2 separate regions of the Homo sapiens genome follow, and region 1 is linked to region 2. Evidence: promoter capture Hi-C in 16 types of primary human blood cells and fetal thymus (Javierre and others, 2016). All regions are on one chromosome and are shown on one strand. Each heading gives the region's core, a stretch centred on a gene start or on the middle of the fragment in contact. The rest is flanking DNA. Distances are from core to core; before and after follow the strand shown. Region 1 holds the start of LOC124901063 (a long non-coding RNA gene). Region 2 holds the start of SHROOM1 (shroom family member 1).

Region 1 (4,002 bases), core at 1,503-4,002, 550 kb before region 2:
GGAGGGCACCTGCTCCCTCCTGCATCCTCAACCTCAACTCACTCAGTCAACTAAATATTTATTAAAAGGTCATGCACAGTGGCTCACGCCTGTAATCCCAGCACTTTGGGAGGCCAAGGTGGGGGGGATCACTTGAGGCCAGGAGTTCAAGACCAGTCTGGCCAACATGGCAAAACCCCGTCTCTGCTAAAAATACAAAAATTATCCCGGTGTGGTGGCAATCACCTGTAGTCCCAGCTGCTCAGGAGGCTGAGGCAGGAGACTTGCTTGAACCCAGGACGTGGAGGTTGCAGTGAGCCAAGATCACGCCACTGCACTCCAGCGTGGGTGACAGAGCAAGACTCTGTCTCAAAAAACAAAAATACCTATTAAGAACCTTCTATATGCCAGGCATTGTGTTGCACCCTAGGAAAACATTTTGAACGAACATGTAAAATAACTACAGGCTATAAGCAGTGCTATCAAGGAAATAAAGAAGGCATTACAGTAGAGCATAAGGGATTCTCTTCATATATGGAATCTGGAAAGGCCTCACAGATAAGGTAACATTTGGGCAGAGAACTGAGGTGGTAAGATATCATCTGTGCAGGTATCTGGGGGGATTACATTCCAGGCAGAGGGCACAGGAAATCCTAAGGCCCTAGGCAAGCAGTGACTGAAGTAGTATAAGTGAGGTGGCTGGAAGTAGTAGATGAGGTCGTCAGAGAGATGTGAGGGAGACAAGGCTGTGTTGGCCCTTGTGAGCCATTGTTCCATGGATAGCAGGACTATGCAAACCCAAAGGCCGAGAGAGCTGAGAAGCCAAAGAAAGAGGTTGACAAATCCATTTTCTCAGAGAGAAATATATAAGAGGGACTTACGAACAGAAGTGATGTCTCGAGTGGCTGCAAGACTGAATCCTCACACCAACCAGCCTTCCAGAAAGTATCCTTTATATAGCAAGCTCTTAGGGTAAAACATGTGCAGCTGGTCCCGTCTTCAGACTTTCTTGCCAAGACTCGTGACCACTGGAGAGGTTAAATAAGCATCTTTATGAAGAGTTTTCTATTCTACAGGCATTGTTTAAAGATCTTGCTGATGAATATCTTGGCATCTAGGGGTCAAACATTGGTCATTACGGTGGTTTTGGATCAAGTGGCCTGGAACAGTGGCCCACACCTGTAATCCCAGCACTTTGGGAGGCCAAGGCGGGAGGATCTTTCAAGGCCAGGAGTTTGAGACTAACCTGGGCAACATAGCGAGACCCCCTCTCTAGAAAAAATAAAAATGAAAAAAAAAATAGCCAGCTGTGGCGGCATGCACCTATAGTCCAAACTACTCAGAAGGCTGAGGTGGGAGGACCCCTTGAGCCCAGGAGTTCGAGGCTGCAGTGAGCTATGATCTTGCCACTGCACTCGAGCCTAGGCAACAGAGTGAGACCCTGTTAAAAAAAAAAAAAAGCATCATTCTTGCCACGCAACAGGCTGTTCTCCTACAGCCATGGTAAGGACTTTGACTTTTACTCTGAGATGAAAAGCCAGAGGAGCGGCATGACCTGGAATTATGTTTTAACTAGGATCACATTGTCTGCTGTATGGAGAATAGGCCCTAAGGGGCAAAGGTAGACGCAGTAAAACCAGTTAGCAAGCATGACTGCGTTCATCCCTAACTAATTCCAAACTAGCCCACTCTCCCCAGTCCAGACGCCACTGTCTCATGCTGAACAGTGTAAGGGCCTCTGCCTTGTCTCCCTGTCTCCTGCCTGGCCCCTCCCTCAATCCTTTCTCTACATAACAGCTAAAGGAGGTTTTTCAAGTGCAATTCCCTGTCAATCTTGCCTATTATAGTTTCCATGGCTCCTCACTGCTCTTAGGACAGAGTCTAAATTCCAAATCCCAGCTCACAGGGCCACATGAGGTACACAGCCCCTGCTGGCCTCTGTGGACAACTTGTGCCTCTGTAACTCTCATTGTGCTTATCTGTAAGTTCAGCCCCATCAAACTCTCCTCAAGACTCTTGCAGGCTTCCTTGACCCTCCAAGGAGGTTGAAACACAAATGGAGTCCTTTCTGGTTCTCTGAGTGACAAGCTTTGTTATTTGATACTTTCCTCCTAGAGAACCAAAGAAAGGGGTGAAGGTAGGCGGAGCCCAGATGCAGCTTCAAGCCAGCCCTCCCTTCATGGCCAAGGACTCAGCCCCTCTAGGGGGTGTGCTAGCTTGGCCCTGGGCTCACAGCCCTTGAACTGCTGAGTTGGATGGGTGGGAGCAGTGTTGTGACTTGCACAACACCATGATGCCCAGAAGCCTGGGCTGTGGGCCCTGAGTCCCTCTGCCCCACCTGGGGAGTGCCCCACCTCCCCTCCACCTCTGGGTGCCCCTGTCCAGCTACGTGCACTCCAGTGCTATCCTGGACAACTCATTCTTACCCAACTTCTTGTCTTGCACCCCAGGCCGACCCCTGACTTGCTTTTCATGTAACTTCCTGGTTTATCATTTTCTCACAGAATAATCTGTCTTTCTAACAACATTCCCACAGCACCTCTGAATGGAGGTGGAACCTCTAAAAAGGTTTAAGGGTAGTGAAGAGGTTTCTCTAATAAGCAAGCACTGTCCTCCTGTGTCCCCTCTACCACAAGTGGGAAACTATTTGGGTCCCTACAGAAACCAAACCTCAACTTTGCTAGTGTCTGACATAGATCCATTTGTGGCTGGAATGCAGAGACTAGAAATCCCAGGAGAGACTGCTAGAGACCTCACTGGGTCCTGCAGGGTCTGGAGTCGGTCTCAGCCATGTGGGCTCAGAAACCGCATTAACCAGCCCTTAAGTGGGTCTGTCAGGCCCGGTGAGCCAAGCTCAGAGGCTGATGCACCACCCCCGACACCCACGCGCGCGCGCGCGCGCACACACACACACACACACACACACACCAGCTTCACTGACAATGGCTGCAGTGCAAGAACACTCAGCTGCCATCCAGGGTGTTCTTGGTCTGTAATTGAATTTTCATGGGAAGCTGGAGCACACCCACAGTCTCAGAAGAAGGGAAGGGAGTTGGATAATAACTATTATGGGAGCTAATGTGTCCCAGGCCTTCATCTCCAAGCCCTTAGTGAACGATATGATTGTTTTTAATCCTCATACCAACCAGAAAGGAAGTATGGTTATTATCCCCATTTTATGGATGAGCTCAGAAAGGTTAAAAAACTTGCCAAGGTCACACACACCCTAGCAAATCTCCATGGCAGGGGCAACCAAAGTAACGGCGCATACCAGTCTTCCATGGAGAGTGTTGCCTGCCTACCAATGGTTTAGTGACTCTGACCAAGCCATTTCTGAAGGGTGCTGATCTGTTTCCACTTGGCAAGTCCCCAGAACAGCCCAGAGTGCAGGCTCAACCTTACCAACTTTTTGCATGGGGCATGGAATGGTGGAAGCTGGACAAAGTAAAGGTGACCCCTGAAGCTTTGGATCTGAGTGTGGACAAGGCTGGTGCCACAGCACCTGATCACCAACTCTGATATGCATGAACCTACCACCATGCCTGCTTGACTCACTCGTCTGGTCATGATCCCGGCTAAATGGGTCATCCCCACCACTCACTGACCCTCCGTGGTTCCAGGAGCCTGCTGAGAGACAGCCTGGACTGGCCCCTTCCCAGCCCCCAGGGCTCTCTCTCCAATTGCTGGAGACTGTCTCACCACCCAGAAAGAGATTTCTGGGTGGAAGAAGTCTCTTTCTCCTCAGTCCTGTCACCCTGTGCCTTCCCAGCCAGTGTTCCTGTCCACTCTCTTGCCTGCCCCTGAGGCACCACTCCTCAAGGCCCTGTCCTAGCTCCTCCATTCCTCCCCAGATGCTCATTGTCTAGGGTTGTTTGTGCTGTTTGCGCTGTCTAATAACCACATCCCTTCTAAACTGTCCCTACCCTCCTTTTGTGCTCTTACTCCAGCCACACTGGACTTGTTCTGGGAGGACAGTGATCAGAGGCCACCTGGCCCAGTCAAGGAGCCACTCCTCCCCTTCAG
Region 2 (4,220 bases), core at 674-3,173:
TGAATGGGCAATAAAAATGTGTCTACACATGTGTTTCCTTATTGACTGTAACTTGTTGAAGATGCTTTTGCACTGGTGGCCCTATCAGGTTGATGTTCACGCAGGCTCCTCACAGTGGGTGCTTTGCAGAACCTACCATGCCAAGAGGGCCCAGCTGCTTTGGTGTGTTTTGGGGGGCCTCAGCACAAAACAACAAGGCATTTTCATACTTGTCTGGCTGCAGGGAGCCTCTTGCAGTCCAGCCAGCCCCTGTGGCTGGGGGTAGCCCTACCTTAGGGGTCCCTGCCTCAGTGGCAGTGGTACCTGTGGGCTGGGCTGTTATGCCTGTGCCGGCTGCTGAAAGGGAGTTCAGAGGTGGAGCTCAAGGAGCTCTGCAGGCATTTTGCCAAGCCTCTCCAGAGCAGAGGGAGCAACCTAGACTCCCCGCTAGAAAGACACCAGATTGGAGTCCTGGGAGGGGGAGTTGGGGTGGGCATTTGATGTATACTTGTCACCTGAATGAAGGAGCCAGAGAGGAAGGAGACGAAGATGAGATTGGCCTTCAAAGCTAGGGGTCTGGCAGGTGGAGGCACCAGTCTGAAAGGAGGAGCTGGGGCTGAGGAATTGTCAAGGGGGCCAGTGCTCCTTCAGTCTGGGCTTCATGGTGTCTGTGACAAGTCAGGCAGCAGTTGGGATGTGGCTCTGGAGTTCAGCAGGGGAGGGTAGACCAGGCAAGACCCAGGTTTTTAGTTAGAGGTTACTGGGGAAATAGCTGAAGACAGTTTCCGGTGGATAAAATCACACCAAGGCAATGGGAACAGATCCAAGTAAGGCGACCGAGGAGGCACAGGAGAACGGACAGCCTCAAATACAACGAATGATCAGGATTTACATCATACCTCCCTCAAGGCCACCTCACATCTGACCTCTCTGTGGAGGGGCTATCCAGGCCGCCCCTCCCAGCGGGTCTTCCCTCAGTACTGGGCTCACTGTGTAGGCGCTGTCTCCCTGTCAGACTGAGTTCCTGGGTACTGGACCACGTCTCAAAACCCAGTACCCGCAGCTGGGTCTGGCTAGGCGGACGTTCTGGGAAGTTCACCGGCTCTCCCTGTCCCCAGCGTCCCCCGTTCTCCCAGCCTGTCCGCGCTGACAGCGCACCCCACGCAGCATCCACGCTCCGAGTGTGCGACTGGTTTACGGGCTCATCGGTCGCTGCACCCCAGATGCAGAGTCTCTGGAGACCCGAGCTCCGTGCCATGCACAGGAAATGCAGGAAGCTGGCGACACCCGGGGAGAGGCGGCCGCGGGCGTGGACAGACCCGGTTACCTGGGGTTCAATCTCTGGGAGCCGAGGCACGGGAGGGAGAGAGGCGCAGGCCCCGGCGGCCGCAGGGGGCGGCAGAGACACGCGGAGCGGCTCGACAGCAGATGGCCGCAGCCCCGCGCAGTTCTGGGCCTTTCCCGTTGGGTTCACCGTCGGGGAAGGATCGCGCGCAGGGGACAGCGCGAGCCCGGGAGGGAAGGACCCGGCTTCTCCAGATGCTTGGCGACAAAGGGCAGGAGCGGAGGGTGGCGGAGTGAGACCGCGCTGCCCGCCGGCGCCACACGCGGCGCGCCCAGCCGCGCCCCTGAGCCGCGCCGCCAGCTTAGAGTGGGCCGCCTCTCCGCCCTGCAGCTCTGCAGCTGGGAGAGGCGCGCTGGGGTCCGACTCCACTGGCGCAACCTGACGCGGCGCCGAGCCAGACACGTCCCGGCCGAACGATGCCCGGGCTGCCCCGCGACCACCGCCTCGCCGCCCGCTCTTCACCCCCGTCCGCCCGCAGCCCCGCCGGCCTCCCGGGGGAAGCGGACCCAGCCGCCCGCTTCCCGCTCCCCCGCCCCCGCCGCGTACCTGAGGCTCCCGCCGAGACGCGCTCCTGGGCCGTCGCAGCCGCGCGGTGACATCAGAGCCCCGGGCTCTGACTCCGACCCCACCTCCAGGCTCCGGCCGCGGCCTCAGGGGAGGCGCCACGTCCGGCCGCGGGGGCGGGAGCCGCAGCCTCTTGGTAGCGTCCGCGCGCCGGCCCAGTCCCAGGTCTGAGGGTGGACAGTGCGTTCCCGCGCGGGCCACAGGCCTCTTGCCCCAGGCCGGAGAAACCTGAGCGAGGTGGTGGGAGGGCGACTACGGCGACCGCCCACCGGCCTCCAGCGCGTCCGTGATGCTCGGGGGCCGGGTCCCTCGGGGCCTGACACCTCCCTCGGTGGGGAGGTCCAGGGCGGGCCCTTAGGCGCCTGACGGCTACCCGCTTTCCCCCCCAAGCCCGGCCAAGAAAACAGAGCTGCCAGGGCCTCGTGCCTCCCACCTGTCCCGCTGAGTAACTCGGCCCTTGATCAACTCTACCCCCAGACCCCCATTTCCAAAACTCTTCCAGCTCTTTGACTCCCACCATGGGCTCTTGTCTCCTGTTCCCTGTCCCATTTCTTTCCATTTCTCCCACTACCCAGCATGGTCTGGGCCCTCCAGCCTGCTACCGGGGTGGGGGAGAGGGGGGCGGAGCACGGGGAAGCCCCTGGACTTGTGTGCACCTTAGCTGTCCTGAGTGTGTCCTTAGGGAGCTGGACATATGCATACCCACTAAGGCTGGACACTGGCGCTCGAGGCCCTCACCTTCCAGGATCTCCATTTTCCAAAGAACGCTCTGCCTGCACCTGCCACTGAGCTCTCCTTGCTGTGTCCTCAGGCTCCCCTGCCCCGACTTCCCAAACTCTGTCCTATGAATACCACTCTGCCAAGAAATGCTCCGTTCCTGAGAGGGGCTGGGGACCCTTTGATGAGCCTCTCCGGCTCTCAGGTCTCTGCCTTTGTCCTCCGCTGCCCTCCCGCTCCCACAGGATCAACAGGGCTGGGCTCAGGGGCTGTGTCCTCCCATGGTAGTATCCCTGGCAAATAAAGGTTTATTGGTGTTAATAACCAGGACTCTGAACTCTGGCCAAGAGTCAAGGTTGCCACTTCCTAGGGACACTGGGAGCCTGAGGAACTCTGTCTTCTTGGGTCTTCTTGGGTTCGGAGGCAGGAGACACCTGAGCCCGACTTCTGAGAGTGGTGCCCGCTGGGCCCTGCTCCTTCTTCAACACCATCTGGACTCAGGCACCAGCTTCAGCTGGAGCGCTAGGCTTTAAGACAGTGCCTAAGAACCTTTCGGCTTTGAAAGACTTTTGTTGTTTGTTTTGCTTTTTTGAGACAGAGTCTCCCTCTGTCGCCCAGGCTGGAGTGCAGTGGCCGGATCTCTGCTCACTGAAACCTGCGCCTCCCAGGTTCAAGCAATTTTCCCTGCCTCAGCCTCCCAAGTAGCTGGGATTACAGGCACCGGGCACCACGCCCAGCTAATTTTTGTATTTTTAGTAAAGACGGGGTTCGCCATGTTGGCCAGGCTGGTCTCAAACTCGTGACCTCAGGTGATCCACCCACCTTGGCCTCCCAAAGTGCTGGATTACAGGCATGAGCTACCGCACCCGGCCTGAAAGACTTTTAATATTTTTAAGACCCTGATCCACAGAGTCTCACAGCAGCATCAAAATAGAAGAAAGACAGCCCAGCAAACAACAACAAAAAATTTTTAATTGCTCATGTTGGCTGGGGCGGTGGCTCATGCCTGTAATCCCAGCACTTTGGGAGGCCAAGGTGGGCAGATTGCTTGAGCTCAGGAGTTCGAGACCAGCCTCGGCAACATGGCGAAGCCCTGTCTCTACAAAAATACAAAAAAAAATAGCTGGACGTGGTGGCACGCACCTGTAGTCCCAGCTACTTGGAAGGCCTAGGCACAAGAATCGCTTGAACCGAGGAGGCATAGGCTGCAGTCTGCCGAGATCACGCTACTTCATTCCAGCCTGGGCAACAGAGTGAGATTCTGTCTCAAAAAAAAAAAAAATGGTTATGTTTTTTACTTATATTTCTTGAAAACTATGGGGACACAGTGTCCAGAACAATTCTATTAACCCACTCCACCCACCTACCACTCACCTCTTGCACACACTACAGCACCTCTCTGCTAGGGACCATGAGGACGCAGTCCAGAGCGATTCTTATTAACCCACTCCACCCACCTACCACTCACCTCTTGCACACACTAAGCAACTCTCTGCTAGGGACCATGAGGATGCAGTCCAGAGCGATTCTTATTAACCCACTCCACCCACCTACCGCTCACCTCTTGCACACACTAAGCAACTCTCTGCCTAAGTCCCCAGAAAACTGAAATCCC

Evidence for each region. Contacts are between HindIII fragments. The CHiCAGO score rates a contact against its expected background, and 5 or more counts as called.
Region 1: a fragment that was not itself captured here is called in contact with the fragment with the promoter of SHROOM1 in region 2 in 1 of 17 cell types (monocytes); the score reaches 5.1 in monocytes.

Annotation. Positions count from the first base shown.
Region 1 is chr5:132,276,482-132,280,483 of GRCh38, forward strand. It overlaps LOC124901063 (a long non-coding RNA gene), which reads right to left and starts at 1,269. Exons shown (of 2, transcript XR_007058934.1): 1 at 1,226-1,269; 2 at 916-1,007. RefSeq lists a silencer at 735-1,029 and an enhancer at 1,690-2,502. The HindIII fragment of the contact is 1,375 bases long and covers 2,066-3,440 here.
Region 2 is chr5:132,828,724-132,832,943 of GRCh38, forward strand. SHROOM1 (shroom family member 1) reads right to left here and starts at 1,924. Exons shown (of 10, transcript NM_001172700.2): 1 at 1,871-1,924. RefSeq lists silencers at 1,293-1,602, 1,813-2,232. The HindIII fragment of the contact is 14,647 bases long and covers 1-4,220 here.